Linked DNA regions of Homo sapiens: regions 1 and 2 are each linked to region 3. The links are contacts of gene promoters, found by promoter capture Hi-C in human tissues and cell types (Jung and others, 2019). All regions are on one chromosome and are shown on one strand. The core of a region is centred on a gene start or on the middle of the fragment in contact, and the rest is flanking DNA. Distances in the headings are between cores, read along the strand shown. Region 1 has its middle 12 kb from the start of KCNN1. Region 2 overlaps MAP1S (microtubule associated protein 1S). Region 3 holds the start of RPL18A (ribosomal protein L18a).

Region 1 (3,001 bases), core at 428-2,927, 95 kb before region 3:
TCTCACTGTCACCCAGACTACAGTACAGTGGTTCAATCATAGCCCACTGTATCCTCGACCTCTTGGGCTCAAGTGATCCCCCCATCTCAGCCTCCAGAGTAGCTGGGACCACACACATGCACCACCCCACTGGTTAATTTAAAAAAAAAAAAATTGTAGAGATGGGTTCTTGCTACATTGCCCAGGCTGGTCTCAAGCTCCTGAGCTCAAGTGATCCTCCTGTCTTGGCCTCCCAAAGTTCTGGGATCACAGGCATCAGCCACTGTATCCAGCACAAAACACTTAAGCTTAATTGATGCCCCATGAAATTCCACAAGGGCTGACCTGGGCTGGCCTTTGTCCTTATTGCATCCCAGCATCCAGCCTAGGGCCTGGCAGACAGTAGCTAGCTTGCTCAGTGTTTGTTGATTGACTAAATGACCACCACCTCTGTTTTCTCCACACCCCCATGGGCAGCTTAGTGCTGACCCTGGATGTCAGTCAGTGTTCACCAAGGAGGCCTGGCTCAGTGGCTCACGCCTGCAATCCCAGCACTTTGGGAGGCCAAGACAGGTGGATCACCTGAGGTCAGGAGTTCGAGACCAGCCCGGCCAACATGGGGAAACCCCATCTCTACTGAAAACACAAAAATTAGCTGTGCGTGGTGACGCATGCCTGTAATCCCAGCTACTTGGGAGGCTGAAGCAGGAGAATCGCTTGAACCCGGTGGGGTGGAGGGTGGAGGTTGCAGTGAGCCAAGATCATGCCACTGCGCTCCAGCCTGGGCGACAGAGTCAGACTCTGTCTCAAAACAAACAAACAAAACAAAACAAAACAAAACTAAAAAAAAAAAGTTCACTGGAGAAAGGAGCACAGGAGCTGCCTTCCACAGAGCTGGCCTACCCTGGGGGCTGTCTCCAGCGAGACCACGAGAGCCGGGAAGTAGAGGCTGTGTGTGGGGGGCGGGGGCGGGAGTGGTGGGACAGAGCTCTTCCAACCTGGCTCAACACCCCACTTCTAGGTCATCTGGCCTCTCTGAATAGTTTCCCCAACTCCAGTGATCAAAGAAAGTGGACAGTAACTCCCCGGAGGCTCTAGAAAGCATAGTCCTTGCTATCATCATCATGATATATATGATATAATAATAATTATATTATTATTTTTTTTCTTTCTTTCTTTTTTTTTTTTTTTTTGGAGATGGAGTTTCACTCTTGTTGCCCAGGCTGGAGTGCAATGGCACAATCTCGGCTCACTGCAACTTCCGCCTCCTGGGTTCAAGTGATTCTCCTGCCTTAGCCTCCCAAGTAGCTGGGATTACAGGCATGCAGCACCATGCCTGGCTAATTTTGTATTTTTAGTAGAGATGGGGGTTTCACCCTGTTGGCCAGGCTGGTCTCGAACTCCTGACCTCAGGTGATCTGCCTGCCTTGGCCTCCCAAAGTGCTGGGATTACAAGCGTAAGCCACCACGTCTGGCCTTTTTTCTTTTTTTTTTTTTTAATTAAAGAGATGGGGGTCTCGCTCTGTCGCCTAGGCTGGAGTGCAGTGGCCATTCACAAGCGTGATCATAGCTCACTGCAGCCTCGAACTCCTGGACTCGATACTCCCACCTTAGCCTTCCGAGTAGCTAGGACCACAGGTGCACGCCACTGTACCCAGCTTGTTATTATTTCAAAAGCTGGCACTTTTTCCTCAGGTCACCTTTTTTTTTTTTTTTTTGAAACAGAGCTTTGCTCTGTCGCCCAGGCTGGAGTGCAGTGGCGCGATCTTGGCTCACTGCAACCTCTGCCTCCCGGATTCAAGTGGTCCTCCTGCCTCAGCCTCCCAAGTAGCTAGGATTGCAGGTGCCCACCACCATCCCCGGGCAATTTTTGTATTTTTAGTAGACACGGGGTTTCGCCATGTCGGCCAAACTGGCCTCAAACTCCTGACCTCAAGTGATCCACCTGCCTCAGCCTCCCAAAGTGCTGGGATTACAGGCGTGAGCCACCTAGCCTGCCCAGTTACCAATTTTTCTATCCAACCCCTGAGCCACCCCCACCCCCAAAGGCGACCCAAGTCTGGGATTCACTCACCCTAGGGTGCAGGGGTCTCCTCGCCGAGCCACTGCAAAGGGGCTGTCCCCTTCAGTCCTGCTGGTGACCACTTGACTGGGAGAGAGGGTGGCTGCTGCTGCCTTTCCTGTCCCTTTGAGATCTGTAATGATCAGACAGGGGGTGCGGGGTGGAGGCGGGGACCCAAAAGAGTAGGGTGCAGACAGCTCCCGGACTACAGTGGTCTTTCTTATTTTTTATTTTTTTGAGACAGAGTCTTGCTCTGTCACCCAGGCTGGAGTGTAGTGATGTGATCTCAGCTCACTGCAACTGCCGCCTCCAGGGTTCAAACAATTCTCCTGCCTCAGCCTCCCAAGCATCTGGGATTACAGGTGCCTGCCACCATGCCCGGCTACTTTTTGTATTTTTAGTAGAGATGGGGTTTTGCTGTGTTGGCCAGGCTGGACTTGAACTCCTGGCCAGAGGTGATTCACCTGCTTCAGCCTATTACGTACAATGGTCTTTACAGCAGATCTGCGCTCTGGCTTGGTGTTGCTGAGCTGGGTCATCTCCTAAGCTTTCAGGAAGCTTAAGAACAGTGGCTTTATCACTCCAATGGGGCCCTGGGCTAGCCCCACCTCTTCCATGTCCCCTCCCTAAGGCCACTCCTCCTTTCACTGGGCTCCAGAAGCTAGACACTGAATGCTTTATCTGTCTTTCCCAATGCTGTTCCTGCTCACCCCCTCACATTGCCCCTAGTTCCTTCGCCATGGGGAGATCTAGGTGGGTGACATTCAGGGAGGTGACATTTTGTCACCCAGGCTGGAGTGCAGTCGCATGAACATGGCTCACTGCAGCCTTGACTTCCCGGGCTCAAGCGATCCTCCCACCTTCGGCCCCCAAGTAGCTTGGACTACAAGTGTGCACCACTACACCTGGCTAATTTTTTTAATTTTTTGTAGAGACAGGGTTTCAGTACGTTGCCCAGGC
Region 2 (3,325 bases), core at 577-3,076, 130 kb after region 3:
GCTAGAACTCCACCTTGCAGGCCGGGAAGGCGTCATCCTGCATGGACACCATGCTGTTGCTGCCCAACACCGTGATGCCCAGCGCCTGGTGCCGGGCGTGCGTCTCTGCGTACCACGTATGCATGGCCACCGAGTCGAAAGTGGGGATCAGGGTCACCTGCAGGTGGAGGGGGGGTGTGTGGGGAGAGTGGACCACCAGTGAGGGGGGTGCCCCCTGCCCTTCTGGCCTGGGCCCAAGTCGCCTTCCTTTCCTGGCATTTGAGACCCCTCCTGGCTTTTCCCTGATCTTGTGTGCTCCACCTTGAGGTCTGCAATGGGTGGTCAGCCCGTCTGTGAGGTCCCTGTTCCTCCCAACCAGCACCCAAAGAGCCTTCTCAGCACACAGGAGACGGAGCTCCTCCTCTGCAAGGCCTTCCTTGGCCTGAGACCCCTCTCTACTCACTTGGATCTCCCCCTGCTCCTTGAACACACCAACCTCTTTCCTACCTCTGGGCCTTTTCCTGGGTCGTGCACCCTACAGGGACACTCCTTTGAAGCCAGCCTAGCAGCTATGAGAGGGCAGGGGCCGCGGTGTGAGGCGGTCCTCCCTCTGCCCACATGCACCTCGCCCTGCAGGGCTTGGTTTCAGTCTCTCAGCTTCATGCAGCCATGGGGGAGGGTTCTCAGCCGCACAGATACCACCCAGCCCACCTATTCCATCCCGACTAATTCTCACAGCGGAACAATGGCTAAGTGACAAGGTGTCTGGGGAAGGGATAGAACCATGAGGCTTCACGAGGCCCTGCGTCCTCCCCCAGGCTTCCAGCACAGCCAATGACAACAGTGACACGACAGAATCAGAGTCCGAAGAGACCCCTAAGGGCTGAGCCATGTGAGACTCCCACATTCGCCCCCATTCCCGTGTGGCCTGGGGAACACAGCTTAGTCTCTGAGGGTCGAGGGTGGTTTTACCCATCTGTGCTAACTACACTTACCACCAGAGGCCCTGGGGTGACACGCACCTGCAGGTCACGGTCCCAATGCTGCTTGCTGGCCAGTAGCGCGTCCAGGACGGCCCGCATGCCTTCCTCCTTGCGCTGGTCCTGGCCACTGATGACGTAGCAGAGCGCGCGCACGCGCTGGAAGAACTCCTCATCCACCAGGTGGGCGCTGCTCCCGCTGGGCAGGTAGGCCAGGTCCAGGTAGACCGGGGACTTGGGTGGGGTGGCTGACACCCCGGGCCGGCTGCTGGCTGACCCTGCGGGCGGGGGGATGGGGAGGCAGGGATGAGCTCCTGGGGCTGGGGAGGGGCCGAGGCTCCAAGTTCGACCTGCACCACTCAGAGCAGCTCCCTCCTCAGCAGGAGGCCTGAACTCAGAGTTTTCTGGGGAGGCCTGGTGCGCTCATGACTCCAGTGAATCTTATTTTAAGAAATGGGGTCTCGCTATGCTGCCCAGGCTCGTCACAAACTCCTGGGCTCAAGTGATCCTCCTGCCTCAGCCTTCCAAGTAGATGGGACTACAGGTGCATGTCACCACGCCTTGACTCCAGTGACTCTTCACTCACTCTACAAACACCACCGGCCACCCCTTTGTGCCTAGAGCCTGACTCATCCCCAGCCAGTCCCTGGACATAGACATCCCCAGGGCTGGGGGGCGAGTGGGTGGCAATCAGGGAATGCTTCCTGGAAGAGGGTTTAAGAGTTTGAGCCCTGAAAGCAGCCAGTGCCTGGACCATCTGCTGCTTCTGCAGCATTTGTCTGGTTCACTTGCTCAAGGGGCATTTAACAGAACCTCATGGGCACCAGGCCCTGAAACAGGGCTGTGACCAAGACAGACAGAATCCCTGCCCCAAGGGTGATGGGGAGCCAGGGTGGGTGGACAGAGCCTTGAGAGGCGGGCCCAAGATCACTGCGGGATGCTGGATGCGGATGAGACAGCAGCTCTGGGGGCCTTGTCCAAACCCTGACCTTAGGGCCAAAGGGGACAAGGCCACCAGCCCTGGGCAAGTGAATGATCAATGAAATGAAAGGATACGGCTGGGTCTCGGGCACAAGAAGCCTGCCAGACCCTGCATCTTACAATCACAGCTGCTGCCCAGCTCAGGGGGTAAGAGTACTACCCCGTCTGTATACCAACAAATGCATACCCTCAGCCGAAATGGACACATTCCTAGAAACACAAAAACTACCAAGACACAATCACAAAAATAGAAAATCAGCACATACCTGTAGCTAGCAAGGAGAATGAATCAGTAACTTACGACCTCCCAACAAAGAAAAGCCCTGGGGAAGCCACTAAACATTTAGAGAACTAACATCAGCCTTTCTCAAACTTTTCCGAGGAACTGAAGAGGAAGGAACACTTCCTAACTCATTTTATAAGACCAGAATTGTCTTAATACCAAAGCCAGGCACAGATATTTAATTCTACAAGAAAATGCCAGTTCAACAGACTTTATGAACAATAATGTAAAAAATCAGGCCTGGGGGTGCAGTGGCTCACGCCTGTAATCCCAGCACTTTGGGAGGCTGAGGCAGGCAGATCACTTGAGGTCAGGAGTTCAAGACCAGCCTAGCCAACATGGCGAAACCCTGTCTCTTACTAAAAATACAAAAATTAGCTGGGCGTGGTGGCAGGTGCCTGTAATCCCAGCTACTCGGGAGGCAGAGGCAGGAGAACTGCTTGAACCCAGGAAGTGGAGGTTGCAGTGAGCTGAGATTGTGCCACTGCACTCCAGCCTGGGCGACAGAGTGAGACTCCATCTCAAAAAATAATAATAAACGAATTCAGCAAAGAAGCAAGGTACAAAGTCCACAGGCAAAACACAGTTGAATTTCTATACATGAACAATGAACAATGTGAAAAGGAGATTAAACAATCATGAAATAGAAGAATCAAGATAGAGGACTCACACTTCCAGATTTCAAAACTTACTACAAAGCTACAGTAATCAAAACAGCGTGGCACTGGCATAAAGACAGACATATAGACCAATGGAATACAATAGAGGCCCGGAAATAAATCATCACATGTATGCTGAAATGATCTTCAACAAGCGTTCCAAACATTCAATGGGGAAAGGATAGTCTTTTCAACAAATGGTGCTGGGAAAGCTGGGCTTCCACATGCAAGAGAATGACACTGGATCTTTTCACCACATACAAAAATTACCTCCAAATGGACCTAAATGTGAAATGGAAAACTTAAAACTCCTGGAAGAAAACATGGGGTAGAAGCTTCTCACTGTTGGATTTGACCAGGCATGGTGACTCACATCTATAATCTTAGTACTCTGGGAGGCCGAGGCGGGCAGATCACTTGAGGTCAGGAGTTTGAAACCAGCC
Region 3 (3,252 bases), core at 423-2,922:
GGCGTTGAGCTACCGCACCCGTTCGATGTCTGATTAATTCTTGAGATGCACGATGTCCCAAGAGGCGCAAATCCACTCCAGACCCCACGTAGCCCCGGCCTCTCCATACCTGCCCACAGTAGACAATCTCCCCTGAAGACTTCTTCATCTTCTTTAACTGAGATACAAAGTACCAGAAGCGGGACTTGGCGACGACATGATTAGGCGCAAAGATTCGCATGCGGTAGAGGGGCGGCGTGTGGCATTTGGGGGTGGGCAGGCAGCGACCCACTACCTTGTACTCTCGTAGCTGAAAGGAAACAGGAGTGAGGGTAAGGCCAGCACCCAGAGGCAACTGTGGAGATCCACCTCACTCCCTTTCCTACATCTAGTGACCACAGATTCGGGAAGCAGGAGGCAGGGCCACCCTAGGGCCTCCATGTGGATTCTTGGTGACTGTAGGTCACACTCCCGACCACAACTTTATACACAAAATGAACTGAGGAGAGGGAGGTCTCCAGGGAGGATTAATTGAGTTGCCTGCCTCTCCTTTGCCTGGGCTAAGGGTTTCAGACCAGGAAAGCTGTGGCTTAGACCCACAGCCTCCTTTCTTCATGCTGCAGTCCTGAATTGCTTTGCAGTCGCCGTCAAACAGCCACTCTGCACCTCAAAACATCCAGCCAACATCTTCTTTCACCCTGAGGCCCAGTGACCAGCATGGGATCTCACAGCCCATTCCAGGCAGAACTAGGACAAGACCTCAGGTCTCTCCCCAGCCCTGGGATCCCTGCACTGTTGCCACGCGAGCTGCGGCTGCCTCCGTTTTCCCAACTGCAATCCAAACGTTTGGCCCAGGGAAGACTCCCGGTTTACAGATGCAGAGGTGAGAATCTTTGGTCAAGTCCAGGCTCTGTGATATGGCACAAAGAAACCACCTCTGAAACTGACTCGCCAGCTTTTCACTAGTTATCAATGAAAAATAGTCACAAATTATCGCAGTTCCTACTTTTACTGTGAACCTGACCCACCGGCCTCGGCACACGTTCAGGAAGGGAACAATGGGGCCCGCCCCTTTGACAGCAAGGAAACCGAAGCTGGAGATCTGGACATAATACACCCACTCCATGGGAGTCCAGGTTCTCCTATCTCTGCGCCATAGAGCCGTTTGATTCTATCCAGTATGTACCACAGCGTTAAGCCTCACGCTCCCCGTTTCGGCTCACTGTTAGCAATTTTCATCTGCTTCTCACAGCCATTCCGGCAGAAAGAAAACACACTATTGCTCTACCGCCACGTCCACGTTGCAGAAAGGAAAACAGAAACTTGGCGGCTCGACGAGGTGCCGGGGCTAGGGCCTCTATGCTGCGCGACTTATTCCTTCCCCCGGGAAGAAGACCCGGAGTCCTTGGGCCCCCGCGATCCCTGAGCTGGCCCAGGTCACGCATCGCTCTCTCCACGCGGCTCCCACGATGGCCGCCATGTTGGGTGCAACAAGAGAAGGCGGCGCGCGGCCAAGGGGGGCCCAAACAGAAGCGCGCGGCACCAACCCGGCCCACGCCACTTATGCAGGCCCCTGATGGGGCCCGTGCCCCATCCCTTGGCCCCCTGCCGCGCCGCGCCCGCCTTACCGTGCCCGAGGCCTTCATGGCGTGCTCTCCGCGTTCGCCGCCACCCGCAAAAGGAAGTGTCCTCTGTCGCGCAGCCGTTCACCAGGCCTTCACTACCGGAAGACCCGCCCTCTCAATGCCGCACGTCCATTGGCTTCTCTGCCCCGCACTCAAAGCGACCCGCGTCTTCATTGGCTATGGATCCACCTGCTACTCAAAGTTCCGCCTCTCTTCAGCGAGACTTCGTTTCCCAGAAGGCAACGAGGCAAGCTCCACCTGTTCCACCACGACCGCAACGGAGCGTCTGCGCGCGCGGCACGTCGGGAGTTGTAGGCACTCCGCCAGTCCCGGCTGCAACTAGGGGCGGCGGCGCGCGCCGCCTGCAGGATGCCTAAGCATTGAACCTAAGCTACCTCGGGTGGCTGCGGTGTTTACCGTGAGATCCCGATGCTTCACACTCGGGGCCTCATCCTCCGGGGAGGTGTGTTACGGAGGTCTCCACCAGATACCTGAGGGTATCTGTAAAATGGGAATACAAATAATATATTTTTCTCCTAGCGATGTTGCAGCACGAATATTGAATAAGCTCTGGAATGCTGTTTTTGTTAATTTGGGGTCCGATTTGTGTTTCGTAGTAGCTGGGATTCAAACTCTGTCTGTCTGCCTCCAGTTCATAAGAACCTGAGGGAGCAGGGGTTGGGGGAGAGCGCGCGGAGAGCCGGAGAATGGATCAAGATCCAGCCGCCCACTTTGAGGGGCTTGGACTTAGCAGTTTGCTTGGGCAGAAAGAAGCCCTCCTGGGGATGAGGACGGGGACCAGATATGAAAAAAGAAACACCCGCAAACAACTCCCTGATGACAAGGCTATGAAGTAAAATTAAGAGGAAAGAGGCAGGAGGCTGAGGCATGAGAATCGTTTGAACCCAGGAGCCAGAGGTTGCAGTGACCCGAGATTGCGCCACTGTACTCCAGCCTGGGCGACAGAGTGAGACTCTGTCTCAAAAAAAAAAAAAAAAAAAAAAGACCAGGCGCGGTGGCTCACGCCTGTCATCCCAGCACTTTGGGAGGCCGAGGCGGGTGGATCACTTGAGGTCAGGAGTTCGAGACCAGCCTGGCCAACATGGCGAAACCCCGTCTCTACTAAAAATACAAAAATTAGCCGGGCGTGGTGGCGGGCGCCTGTAATCCCAGCTACTCGGGAGGCTAAGGCAGAAGAATCGCTTGAACCTGGGAGATGGAGGTTGTAGTAAGCCGAGATCTGGCCATTGCACTCCAGCCTGGGAGACAGGGCGAGACTCCGACTCAGAAAAAAAAGAAAGAAAGAAAGAAAGAAAATAAAGGACAGCAAGCATGCAATTTTTTATTTTCATTTTCTTATTTTGCATTTCTGGTTCTCTTAATCTGGTTTTGTGGATTCAAGTCACTACTGGGTGTGATTTTCTTTTCTTTTCTTTTTCTTTTATTTTTTGAGACTGAGTCTTACTCTTTTCCCCAGGCCAGAGTGCAGTGGCGCTATCTCGGCTCACTGCAACCTCTGCCTCCTGGGTTCAAGCAATTCTCCCGCCTCAGCCTCCAGAGTAGCTGGGATTACAGGCGCCCGCCACGATGCCCAGGTAATTTTTGTATTTTTAGTAGACACAGGGTTTTACCATGTTGGTTAGGCTGG

Evidence for each region. The method cuts DNA at HindIII sites, captures the fragments that hold promoters and counts their contacts. A contact is called where the count stands out against the background at its distance.
Region 1: a fragment that was not itself captured here is called in contact with the fragment with the promoter of RPL18A in region 3 in 4 of the 25 tissues and cell types used here (dorsolateral prefrontal cortex, liver, lymphoblastoid cells and 1 more).
Region 2: a contact is called between a fragment that was not itself captured here and the fragment with the promoter of RPL18A in region 3, in 2 of the 25 tissues and cell types used here (lymphoblastoid cells and spleen).

Annotation. Positions count from the first base shown.
Region 1 is chr19:17,953,734-17,956,734 of GRCh38, reverse strand. It overlaps a transcript of KCNN1 not described here. Among named protein-coding and RNA genes, the nearest start is that of KCNN1, 12 kb to the left of the region's middle. The HindIII fragment of the contact is 4,437 bases long and covers 1-3,001 here.
Region 2 is chr19:17,731,105-17,734,429 of GRCh38, reverse strand. It overlaps MAP1S (microtubule associated protein 1S), which reads right to left. Exons shown (of 7, transcript NM_018174.6): 6 at 1,002-1,237; 7 at 1-157. The coding sequence ends at 2. It overlaps FCHO1-AS1 (FCHO1 antisense RNA 1), which reads left to right. Exons shown (of 5, transcript XR_007067152.1): 4 at 1-163; 5 at 1,008-1,095. Among named protein-coding and RNA genes, the nearest start is that of MAP1S, 13 kb to the right of the region's middle. The HindIII fragment of the contact is 4,823 bases long and covers 1-3,325 here.
Region 3 is chr19:17,858,330-17,861,581 of GRCh38, reverse strand. It overlaps RPL18A (ribosomal protein L18a), which reads right to left and starts at 1,672. Exons shown (of 5, transcript NM_000980.4): 1 at 1,608-1,672; 2 at 110-289. The coding sequence starts at 1,625. RefSeq lists enhancers at 1,677-2,056, 1,389-2,124. The HindIII fragment of the contact is 5,224 bases long and covers 1,575-3,252 here.